Regions from separate parts of the Homo sapiens genome. Here regions 1 and 2 are each linked to region 3. The links are contacts of gene promoters, found by promoter capture Hi-C in blood cells and fetal thymus (Javierre and others, 2016). All regions are on one chromosome and are shown on one strand. The core of a region is centred on a gene start or on the middle of the fragment in contact, and the rest is flanking DNA. Distances in the headings are between cores, read along the strand shown.

Region 1 (3,803 bases), core at 938-3,437, 310 kb before region 3:
CAGGGATGCGATGGCGGAGTCGCTGCCCCTGGAGGTGAGAGGAAGCCGCCCTCAGGCCTAGCTCTGGACAGGCCCCGCCCTCGCGGTCCTGAGCTTTGGGGAGGGGCTGTCAGATAGCTAGCCCGGCCCCTCCAGCCTGGCGGAAACGACCCGCCCTCCCGATCCCGGGACCTTCTAGCTCTGGGTAACGGTTCCTCCTTTGGGCCACTCTGTCCCTTTAGCTTGGGGGACCGTCCTCCCCTTCCCTATCGGCCCCAGAAGATAGCTGCCCTGTCATCTCCGCGAGAACAGGCCCTCTGCCCATCCCCTTCCCTTGAAGTGGCTGTCTCCTCCCCGCTCAGTTCTGGAAGATGTCCGCTCCATCTCATCGTCCCGAAGGGTAACTGATCTTATCCCCATTGGTCCCTTGGGATGATCTCTCCATTTCCTACAGAGACGGCCGCCCCTTCTCCCTGGCAGTGGGAAACAGACTGCTCCCTCCCCATCAACTGCAATGATCTCTGAGTTCCTTTAACAAGGATAGGCCTGTTCCCCATTCCTAGGCCCCTAGTGATGGCCGCCCTTACCTCTTTCACTCCGTGGGATGTTTGCTCCTTCCCCTTAGCCAGGGGCAAGACCACTCTGCCCCATCTGCCAGGGAGATAACAGGTTTTGTCTTCAGTGGCCTGTTGGAATGGCTTCTCCATCTCTTTTGTCCTGAGGGTTGGCAGCCCCCTCTCTCTGCCCATGGGAAACAGGCCACCCTTTCCCATCGGTCCTGGAATGATGCTCCTGTCCTTAGCAAAAATAGGCCTGTTCCCACCCCTATTGAGCTTGCAGTGCTATCCCTTTCCCCCTTAGCTTTAGGGGCTATCTATTTCCATCCCCATAGACCCCATGAGTGACCAATCATTATCTCCAGTAGCCCCCTTGAGATGGGACTCATGGGATGGTCACTCCATCCTCATCACTGCCTCCTCTTGTCCCTCTAGAAAGGCCACCCTCTTCTTAGGTCAATGAATTGTGTCCCTTCCCGACTCACCCCAAGGGATGACAGGTTTGTTCCCCTCTCCCTTTGCTCTTGGGCTGGCTGCTTAGCCCCAGAAGACAGGATGGCCACTGTCTTAACTCAGCTCAAACAGGCTTCCGTGCCTCCCTGGAGGGATTGGGACTTGGTCAGTCCCAGTCCCCATCAATACTGTCTTCCCTATGCCTCCCTTCCTGGCCCAGAAGTCTATTCTGCCAGTCATTGTCCTCTCAGTAATGACTGCTTTATTTCCCCGACCCCTTCCCTGAGCATACTCTTGGTGAAAATAGAGGTAGAGGACTGGACTGTCCAACCTTAATTTAATCCAGTAAGCACTGGCTGAGCACTGTGCCTGCGTGCTTGGCATCTGAGAAAGGAAGGAGAGATCACAATGGGTTGGTGAAGTTAAGCTTCAAGAAGGGGATCCCAGGGAAAAGGCCCGCATAGGCAAAAGGAAATAGACATGCTGTGTGCGTAGGGCAATGGGGAGACTGGACTGGGGAAGTTTGGGGACCAGCGAGTCCAATCAGGCACAGAGGCCTGGCAGTGCTGATCCAGGAGTGGAGACTGTCCTGAGAGTACTGTGAACCCTGAAGTTTTACAGCAGGGGTGAGCTGAAACTGAAAACTGTTTTATAGGAAAAATTAACCTTGTGACAGTGTGCATAATGTATTAGCAAGGATGAACTTGGAGGCAAAGAGTTCAGGTGGGAGATTGTGGAAGGAATCCAGGTTTGGGGTGGTAGAAATCTGAGCTACTGAGGTGGGGAAGTTGCAGAGGTAGAAATTTTAGTAACAGCAATCCAGCAACCATTTATGGAACATCTAGTTGTCACACACACACTATATATATGTAAAATTTAATCCCCATGAGGCTATGATCTAGATTTTTTTAAAGTATCCCTATTTTATAGATATGGAAACTGAAACTCCCAGAGGTCAAGTACCTTGTTTAAGGTCACACATCAGTATATGTGGAAGTAGTGGAGCTGGAATTTGAATGAGTTTAGGTTAGCCTGGCCTAAAGCCTGTGCATTACACCTGTATCTGGGAGGAAGGGACAGAATGGTTTGAATAGTTGAAAGTGTTATCAGGTAGATGCACTGTTGGCATTGAAAGGGGAATTTGGGAGGAGAGGCTGTTTTGGGCTGAGGGTAGAACATGAGTTTTGGTTGAGATTAAAGTGATGGCTAAACATTTGCATGGACAGTTGGCAATATGGACTAGCACTTGGATAATAGGACAATATGGGAATATTGAATTGTTGGTTATTCCTGTGTTGGTAAACAGAAAACCAAAAGACCCAGGTCTGAGCCCTGGGAGCCACAGAAGAATCCAAAAACGAGACAATTGGGATGCAGGGAGGAAGATTCCAGAAGAAAAGAAGAGTTAATATCAAATCATTCTAGGCCTCACTGGTAACCCCTTCCCCAGTCCCATTTAGGACCTCTAACCTCACCACCCCCTAGGTGGGGGGAAGGGCCTGAGCCTCCCAGGCTAGGTCTTGCTGGGAGCGCATCTTAACAACCAGTGGAGAGGGCAAGGTGGCAGTGAAGAAGACAGAAAAACAGCAGGGTCCCAGAGCCTGAGCCATGAGGGCAGGAGGACCAAGCATGACTTCCTGAGGACCAGAGTGAGCACACCTGGCCTGCTGTGCTCTAGGTCCTATGCAAGACACTTGGCTGTGTTCTTTAATTCTCACAATAATCCATTTAAATCTCACTACAATTGCAATTTCACAGATAAGGAAAACAAAGTTCGAGAGGTCAGTTGGCAGAGTAGAGATTTGAACTAGGTTTATCTGGCCTCAATGCCCAGGCTTTTTCTACCCAGCTAGGCAGGAAGTTTGATTCTTATCAGTCAGTGCAAGCCTGCACCCAGCTCAGGAAAGGTTTGTTTACAGGAAAGATACCTGAAGCCTGGAGCGGGGAAGTGAATGCTTCGTGAAGCTTCACATCCAAGATAAAGTAGAAGCCAGGGCTCTGGTGCCCTCAGACCCATGGTGCTGTCAGCTGGAGTGGGTTCCAAAGACCTCCCACCTCTAACAGTCCCCAATGCCCTGTCTTTTTCCCTCAGATGCTCACATATATTCTGAGCTTCCTGCCTCTGTCAGATCAGAAAGAGGCCTCCCTCGTGAGTTGGGCTTGGTACCGTGCTGCCCAGAATGCCCTTCGGGAGGTAAGGCACCCACCCTCCCCCGTCCCATCCTCAGGTGTTTCTTACTTCAGCTTACTCGTGGCCCTGCTCATGTATCTCCATCCATCTATCCATCCATCCATCCATCCATTCATATGCTCATACATACACATATATACATACATTCATACATACTTGGCTCTGGGTACAGTGCTGGGGCTATACAGATAAATAAGACATAGTTCCCTAAGGAGCTCACATTCCAGTGAAGGAGAAAGACGAGTAATATGAATGATCATGCTATCGTGTGCTCAGCGCTGTGACACTGGGAAGAAAGAGTTCGACGGGGACAGCCGGGCGCAGTGGCTCACGCCTGTAATCCCAGCACTTTGGGAGGCCAAGGCGGGTAGATCACCTGAGGTCAGGAGCTCGAGACCAGCCTGACCAATATGGTGAAACCCTGTCTCTACTAAAATTACAAAAATTAGCTGGGTGTGGTGGCGTGGTGTGCACCTGTAGTTCCAGCTACTTGGAGGCTGAGGCAGGAGAATCGCTTGAACCCGGGAGGCAGAGATGGCAGTGAGCCGAGATCGCGCCACTGCACCCCAGCCTGGGCAACAGAGCGAGACTCTGTCTCAAAAAAAAAGAGTTTGACGGAACAT
Region 2 (3,907 bases), core at 1,352-3,851, 340 kb before region 3:
TTTGTAGCCTCAGCATTCGCCACACCATCCTTCTGAGGACCAAGAAAGAAAACCTGAGCCTCTGGCCCCGGCTTCCCACCCCAACCCTGTCATCTGGTGGGGTCAACAGGACAAGTTTTCCTAACCCAGCAGGGGAGGGAATTTATGTCAGTCCCAGTGGTTCTACCATCCCTTGGCCAACCAGGCAAGAGTGACCCATGCCCCAGTAAGAAATCTGGATGCATCAGCGTGGGCTGACTTAGGAGCTCATGGAGTTGCCCCTCAAAGGAATCTCCTTTTCTCCTGCCTTTTTCATCTTTGGTAGGCGGCCCTGCTGCCTCCCAGCAGGTGACCACATGGCCAAGAGGCTGCTCCCCCTCTGAAGGTCTCACCTTACCCTTCTGGGACTCCAGGAACATCTAAAAGGGAACCCAAACTGCTGTAGTCATCAAGCCCCTGAGGACTGTCCCAACTGGGGTTCCCCCTAAGCTGGATCCTAACACTAGGGGGCTCAAAACTGCTTGCTGTCAGCCTCCAGCTCCCAAGAGGAGTCCCTGAGGGAAGACATGCCTTCCTGCGGCCAGTCTTGCGGGGTCGTGGCTTGCTCTTGGTGAAGCAGATGTTGTGCTTGGTGGACTTAAAGGACTCCAGCCGCCGCTTCATGTTCTGCTGGAAGACCTCCTTGTCCTGCCGCTCCTGCGCATCCTCTGAGATGAAGTGGCGACTGCAGCTGGCTTTGTACTGGCAATGACAGCCCCGCCTGGCTATGAGGATGGATGCCTTGGCCTCCCACAAGAACCCCAGGCCACAGCCCCAACATATTCACCACAGGACCTGCCAGCCCAGCTTTTCCAGAATTAACAATGGATTGAAAAACAAAACAAAAAATACAACAGGAACCCAGCCAGAGACCCTGTGTTCTCAGTTCCCTGGGAAAAGCTTCCCTTTATCCCAGAACTTATTCCCCCAAACCTGGCCTTCCCCAACCCTTGCCATCCTTTCCCGATTCTCTCTGGTTTGAAGGTGACCCTCTGTCTTGTTCTACTACTGTGACAACATGGGGGACATTTTCTTTGTACCTCCATTTATCTGAGCTTCGCCCACACACCCAGCCTACCTGCCCCCTTCTAGCTACACAGGATCCTTTCTCCAGCTGGAATCTCCTATCTAGCCATTTCTACAAGAACCACCATGATATCCTGGGCTGCACTTTGAACTTTCATAACTATCTCCCCTGACACCCTGGACCTTCTCAGTCCCAATAATTCAGGATCACCCCCATCATCTGCTTTTTTTTTTCTTTTTTTTGAGACGGAGTTTTGCTCTTGTCACCCAGGCTGGAGTGCAATGGCACGATCTCTGCTCACTGCAACCCCCGCCTCTGGGGTTCAAGCAATTCTCCTGCCTCAGCCTCCCGAGTAGCTGGGATTACAGGTGCCTGCCATCACACCCGGCCAATTTTTGTATTTTTAGTAGAGACAGGGTTTCACCATGTTGCCAGGCTAGTCTCGAACTCCTGACCTCAAGTGATCTGCCTGCCTTGGCCTCCCAAAGTCCTGGGATTACAGGCATGAGCCACTGCGCCTGGCCATGCTCTTTTTAACTCTTATCAACACCAAGCCCGCTACACACTCACCTAGACTGCCTCTGCCTCTACCCTCCTTGCTTAGCACCTTTTCATCATCTAGTGGTAATCCCCTGAAATGCTTCCCAGTGCCTGCCAAATCATCTTATCTTGCCTCAAATCCCAAGTCTGGTCCCTTTATCTCATATTTTCTGCTTCCCTGAACCAGTTCTAAGAGCCCCCTTCAAGTCTTCCATCTGCCCTCCTCATCTACCTATGCACCAGGAGGTACCCTCTCTCCTGGGGAGAAGGGGTCCATCTCCTTCACAAGGCTCATTGCTGCCCAGCCCCGGCCTCCACATTGCTCAGTTCCCTCCTTCCTGCCTCCAGCAGTTCCTGCTGCCTCCTATTCCTCCACTCTCCTGTATCTTCACTCCTTACCTCACCACTTGGCTCCCTCCCCTCTGTTTTCAAGCTCCTGCCCTTGCCTCCTTAAAGAAAGTCTTCCCTTGAACACCATTGTCTCCCTTTTGCTGCTACACTTTTATAATTTGATTCTGACACTTTCTCTCCTACCCACTATTTCCTTAAAAACCAGAAATGCAACTCCAGGGTCCACAACTCCACAGTGCTGCCTTCTTGCTGGTCACCAGTGCTGTGGGCTCTGCCTAGGTGCTGGCCAGGCCTCTGCGCAGCATCCAGCCCTCTTTCTGCCCCAGGCCTGAGGCACCACCTGCCACTGCTTCTCCAAGGGTTCCTTGTCTTTGGCTCTCTTTCCTTTTCTCCCATGCGCACTCCTCAGTGTTATCCTTAGCCCTCCTCCCGCCCCATGAAACACTCTCCTCAGAGAACTTATCCATTCTCTCTGCCCCAGCTATCCCAGTGATACAGATCTGTGGTCCCCCAACATCAGTCATCAGACCAGCTGCATTTGAATCACCTGGGGAACTTAGTAAGAACACAGATTCTTAGTCCCACTCCAGACTACAGAATCAGAATCTCCAGGTGAAGCCAGGAAGTTCCCCAGGGGATTCTGTGGTAGCCAGGTGACAAAACCTGATACAGATTGCTTCCAAATTTCTCTCCAGCCCTTATCTCTCTATTAAACTATAATCTTATCTTTCTAACTGAAAACTAGATATCTCTGTCTCTCTCTAATGATATTTCGATGAAGAACATGAGAAATTGTGGATTGTGTTATCATACTAAGTGGATTCAGAACTGGTTGAGTTACCATACCCCAAAAATGCTTGATCCATGTCAGTCTGGAGGAAAGTCTTTAGTAGCATGCCACAGGGCTCTGTCCTCAGCTCTATCCTGTTCAACATGTTTATGTGGATTTGGATGAATACAAAGTTAACAGGCTTAACAAATTTTCAGATGATATGAATCTAAGAAGGAGACATTTGGTGGCAGACATGGGAACCAAACAATGGGATGATGGGCTAAAGCAAATAAGATGACATTTAACAGGATACACACAAACTTATTCCAGATTTTTAAAAAACAGACTACACATGAACCGATTGGACTGAACCCATTGACCAATCTTATACATAAACACCACATACACACACACACACACACACACACACACACACCTCACCAAATCATTATGTACTTCCTGATGTGACACCACAGAAAATATATAGCATACCTATTGAATGTCCCTGAATTTGATCAGGCCTCTAGATTTAACAACCAGGAAATATAGGGAACGGAGGAACATGTTAAACAACACCACTGGAATACAGTCAGCAAAATCTAGAAAATGTGCAATTCTCCAAGAGAAAGTATCCAGCTTCTTCAATAAATAAATAGCAAGGGAGATAGAGAGGGGAAAAAGAACTATTATAGATTTTTTTAAATGAAGAGACATATTTCCCAAATGCTAAGTGTGGACTTATTTAGACCCTGATTTGAACATCCAGCGGGGAAAAGATATTTATTGAATACTGACTGGATGTAAGAGTTCTTGCCACCTAGAGAGACATACTGAAATATTTTGAGATGATGTGATACGATGTCTGGAGTTTGTTTTAAGATAAAGTGTGGGAGGGATGTGGTAGGGCTGCAGAATGTAATAGAATTGATCATGCACTGATTTTTCAGTGCTGGTTGATAGATAAATATGAGTTATTTTATTCGTTCTACTGGAATTTTGAATAAGAAAGGTTTTTTAAAAACCCCATAGGATGCAGTGAGACAGGGTCTGCCAGCCATTAACTGAGGAAGACCTGGGAGTTTAGCAGATTCTAAGGACAATGTGGGGCCCCAGGGTGGTGAGCCAAGGCTGGAGGGATCTTGGGCTGTGGGAAGAGAAATAGCAAGTTCTAGAACTAGAATGGTGTCAGAGCTTCTAGG
Region 3 (4,273 bases), core at 391-2,890:
GCCAAGGTCCATACATTCCTTCCTTAGTTCAATTTATTCAATTTATTCATTCCACAGACTCCAGGGAGCCCTGGCAACCTGGTTAGAATCCTGATTGCAGCTTATTGAATGGCAGGAGGAGGCTTGAGGGCTGCCCCTCCATGTACAGGGGAGCGCTGAGATTCACCCACGTGCTCCCCAGGGCAGAGGTAACTGCTCAGAGCTGTTGCTGCTCTGCCCCTCCTCCCCACATACTTCAAGGAATGCAGAAGGCATGGTATTTTCAGATCAAGTGAGGGTCCCCAGGCCTTCCTGGCTCTGTCACTTATTGACTGTGTGACCCTAGGCAAACCACTCAGCTTCTCTGTGCCCCAGCATGTGCCCAATGCCCCTTCAGAACGCAGTATGTGGCATAATGAAGGTATGTGCTCAGAGCAGTGCTGGGCACAGAGCAGGAGCTTAACACGTGTGAAACCCCCTTCAACCTCCCCACACTACACTGCTCCAGGCTGGGTGCCAGAGTGACCCTGAAGCAGGCACTCAGCTTGTGACAAGGCTGGGGGCAGCTGGGGGTAGCTTCTGGCCTGAGAGAGACTAATCAGATGTACAGTGGGAAGGACTTCGTGGGGACCATGGGAAGCTCCAAGGCTGGAGAGGGACTGGAGACCTTCTTCCCACCCTCTCCCCTCATTCCAGACTCCCAGGCCCCAGAAGCATCTCCTGGCTCTGCTTGGCTGCCCTCATTGCGGGGAGAGCCCCTGTTCAGCCCTGCAACTCCCTCAAGGTCACCTGAGCCAGTTTAATCTTCTTAGGGGCATGAGACTGCCCACTGTCTCAGCCCTGTCACTGTTGAGTGGCCAGTGTAAGGACTTCGGGAGCTCATAGGCTGCTGCACTCCCCCACCACAGGTCCCCCTGGGGGGGGTGGTCTGGAGCCCCAATACCCACTTCCACTCATGTACTGCTCACCCATCCTTTGCAACCTCCAGCTCCTTGTCTTAGTTCCACAAGCCATGCGGAGCTGCCAGGGCAGAATGAGAGCCAGGTCATTCCTGAGTCCCTGAGTTCTGCTCTCAAAGGGCTCCCAATCTAATGGAAGAGGCAGACAATGACAAGCTGGTGTCCTCTGTGTATTAATAGAGATAGCACATGGCATGGTGTGAGGGGGAGGGGCATTCCCAGAGGAGGCTCCTGAACAAGCCTGGGAACATAGGGGAAGTTTCCTGGAAAAAGGAATATTTGAGCTGAGCACTGAAGCATGCATGAGCAGGTGCTTACCACACAGATGAATGAGTGGGAAGGGTGTTCCATGCAAAAGGAACAGAGTGTGAAAAGGTGTGGCTGCAGACACTGGAGCCTGGGAGATAAGTCAGACCAAGTCTGGAGCCACAGAAAAAGTAACGTCCAGAACCAGAGGGCCAAGGAATACCTCCTGGGCTGTGCTGGGGTCGAGGGAGTGCCAGGCCAACCATCTCCCCACCTCCTGGAGCTGGCAGTCACGGATGCTGAGCAGCTCCTGGCTTTCCAAAGTCAATGAGTAACTTGGGGGGCTGGGCGGGGCCAGGCCTGCTGCTGTGGGCCCAGTGGCCTTTTCCACTCCTGAGCAAGCGTGGCTGAACCCTCCTACCTGCTCAAGTGCCCTGCCTTGCCCCACCCAGCCCAGCCTGGCCAGAGCCCCCTGGAGAAGGAGCTCTCTTCTTGCTTGGCAGCTGGACCAAGGGAGCCAGTCTTGGGCGCTGGAGGGTGAGGGGCTGGGAGTGGAGGGGAGGGCATGGCTGAGGCTGAGGTTGGTGGTGGGGAAAGGAGAAACACTGCCCTGTCCTCGCCATCTGGGAAAGAATTCCCAGGGCCTCATCTTAGAGGGGTTGTCGATTTGTCGCTGCTCTGCCTGCCCAGCTCCATGACAAGGGCTGGAAAATGATGAGACAAGGGCCGGGCTCCTGCTCCGGGGGTTCTCCTTGTCTAGAAGGTGGCAGTGGGAGGCAGGACAGTCCCAGAGGCCCTGAGCTAGGAGGACTCCTCCTGTGGTCAAGTCCTCTGTGACCTTGGCCAGACCCCAGCATTCAGGCCTTGCCTGCAACAAGAGGTGACTTCAGGAAGTGACCCTCCAAGTCTTCAGGAACTTTCCAGCTTCAAACTTTTGTGATTTGGGGGATTGCTAGAAAATTACCACTTTGGGATCTGCGGCCTGGGGAGGCTATGGTGAGAAGGAGCTGGAGGTCTGGAGGTGAAATTCTGATAGAGTGCTTGATGGACCAAGAGCCTAGAAGCAGGGTGGCTGGGCCTGGGGGCCTTGGTGGGCCTGGCCGAGGAGCAGGGCACTACCCTGCAGGAGATGGAGAGCCTCAGCTCCTTTGGAGGGGAGGAAGAGAAGACTAGTCTGCAGTACGATCCCACTAGTTGTGTGTGTGGGATGGAAAGCCCCTCCCTACCCACCTGGGCTGGATCCTCACTGCCGTGTCCCTCAGGCCTGTCCTGACCATGGTCCCTGCCTGGCTGTGGCTGCTTTGTGTCTCCGTCCCCCAGGTGAGCTAGGCCCTGCCCCCTCTCCTTCAGGTCTTGGCTTTGGGGGTTGACACCCTTGCCCCCAACTCCACCTGGACCAATTGCACTGACCGTGAGAACGGTGCAAGGCATGGGAGGGGTCAGAGCTGGGACTATAGAGCCACTGTGGGATGAGGAGGTCAAAGACCAGAGCGCGGGTGGATGGACTAAGGTACAGCCAGGCCCTGGGAAGGGGCGGAAATTCCGCTCTTCTGTTGGGTCTCAGTGCCCACGCAGGAAGATAGAGCCTGGTGACAAGGTGAGAATCCTCCCACAGGCTCTCCCCAAGGCCCAGCCTGCAGAGCTGTCTGTGGAAGTTCCAGAAAACTATGGTGGAAATTTCCCTTTATACCTGACCAAGGTGAGCCGGAGAGCTGGGGTTGGGGCCGGGGGGATCCCTCCCCGCAAAGTCCTGCTTCTCCTTCCTCTGGCACCCTTCCTCTTGCTGTTTCTCTTTGAAATCCTGCTTTCCAGAGAGTATGTACACGTTACACAGGTTGAGTGTCCCCTATCTGAAATGCTTGGGACCAGAAGTGTTTCAGATTTTGGATTTTTTTTTTTCTTCAGATTTTGGAATATTTGCATATATATCATGAGATATCTTGGGGAATGGAACCCAAATCTAGATAGGAAATTCATTTATGTTTCATATACATCTTATACACATAGCCTGAAGGTAACGTTATACATTTTTTTTTCTTTTGAGACGAAGTTTCGCTCTTGTCGCCCAGGCTGGAGTGCAGTAGCATGTTCTCAGCTCACTGCAACTTCCACGTCCTGGGTTCAAGAGATTCTCCTGCCTCAGCCTCCTGAGTAGCTGGGACTACAGGCATGCACCACCACTCCTGGCTAATTTTTTTTTTTTTTTTTTGTATTTTTAGTAGAGACAGGGTTTCGCCATGTTGGCCAGGCTGGTCTTGAACACCTCACCTCAGGTGAGCCGCCCGTCTTGGGCTCCCAAAGTGCTGGGATTACCACTTTGGGATTTGCGAGCTGGGGAGGCTATGGCCAGAAGGAGCTGACAGTACAGAGGTGAAATTCCGACAGAATCCTTGAGTGGCCAAGAGCCCAGTGTGAGTCTGCTCCTGGGCGAATATTTTTAATGATTTTGTGCATGAAACAAAGTTCTGACTATGTGTTGACTGTGACCTGTCACATGAGGTCAGATGCGGCATTCTGTACTTGTCACATCATATTGGCGCTCAAAAAGTTTCAGATTTTGAGTATTTCAGATTTCAGATTTTCGGGTTAGAGATGCTCAACCTGCAGTGGGAATGACTAACAGATTTTAATCCTAGTGGAGAGCAGAGCTTTAGATTAAAGAACGAAATCTCGGTGGTGAGGTTTCAAGCTTCAGAAAGAAGGGCAGAGAGTTTTGGGGAGCATCAGGTCCAGGGAAAAGAGTTCTGGCTCTGAGTCTCAGTCCTGATGCTTACTGGCTGTGTGACCTCTGACAGGAGCCAGATGTCTCTGAGACTCAGTTTCCCCACATGTAAAATGAGGCCATCAGGTGGAGGAGGGGCATCTCCCAGGCCTGGCCACCGCTCCCTTCACTTCTGTTCATTTCCATCAGTTGCCGCTGCCCCGTGAGGGGGCTGAAGGCCAGATCGTGCTGTCAGGGGACTCAGGCAAGGCAACTGAGGGCCCATTTGCTATGGATCCAGATTCTGGCTTCCTGCTGGTGACCAGGGCCCTGGACCGAGAGGAGCAGGCAGAGTACCAGCTACAGGTATGGCTGGGCCAGGTGTAGG

What was found. The method cuts DNA at HindIII sites, captures the fragments that hold promoters and counts their contacts. A CHiCAGO score of 5 or more calls a contact.
Region 1: a fragment that was not itself captured here is called in contact with the fragment with the promoter of CDH16 in region 3 in 8 of 17 cell types (non-activated CD4 T cells, naive CD8 T cells, total CD8 T cells and 5 more); the score reaches 7.6 in non-activated CD4 T cells.
Region 2: a contact is called between a fragment that was not itself captured here and the fragment with the promoter of CDH16 in region 3, in 1 of 17 cell types (total CD4 T cells). The highest score is 6.0, in total CD4 T cells.

What each region holds. Positions count from the first base shown.
Region 1 is chr16:67,223,206-67,227,008 of GRCh38, reverse strand. It overlaps the pseudogene FBXL9P. Among named protein-coding and RNA genes, the nearest start is that of TMEM208, 2.0 kb to the left of the region's middle. RefSeq lists an enhancer at 1-76. The HindIII fragment of the contact is 1,538 bases long and covers 1,419-2,956 here.
Region 2 is chr16:67,261,165-67,265,071 of GRCh38, reverse strand. SLC9A5 (solute carrier family 9 member A5) reads right to left here. Exons shown (of 16, transcript NM_004594.3): 13 at 550-720; 14 at 1-32. It overlaps LOC124903701 (a long non-coding RNA gene), which reads left to right. Exons shown (of 3, transcript XR_007065092.1): 3 at 1-2,677. Among named protein-coding and RNA genes, the nearest start is that of SLC9A5, 14 kb to the right of the region's middle. The HindIII fragment of the contact is 3,362 bases long and covers 921-3,907 here.
Region 3 is chr16:66,916,252-66,920,524 of GRCh38, reverse strand. It overlaps CDH16 (cadherin 16), which reads left to right and starts at 1,640. Exons shown (of 18, transcript NM_004062.4): 1 at 1,640-1,721; 2 at 2,447-2,504; 3 at 2,800-2,883; 4 at 4,096-4,251. The coding sequence starts at 2,460. The HindIII fragment of the contact is 16,817 bases long and covers 1-3,875 here.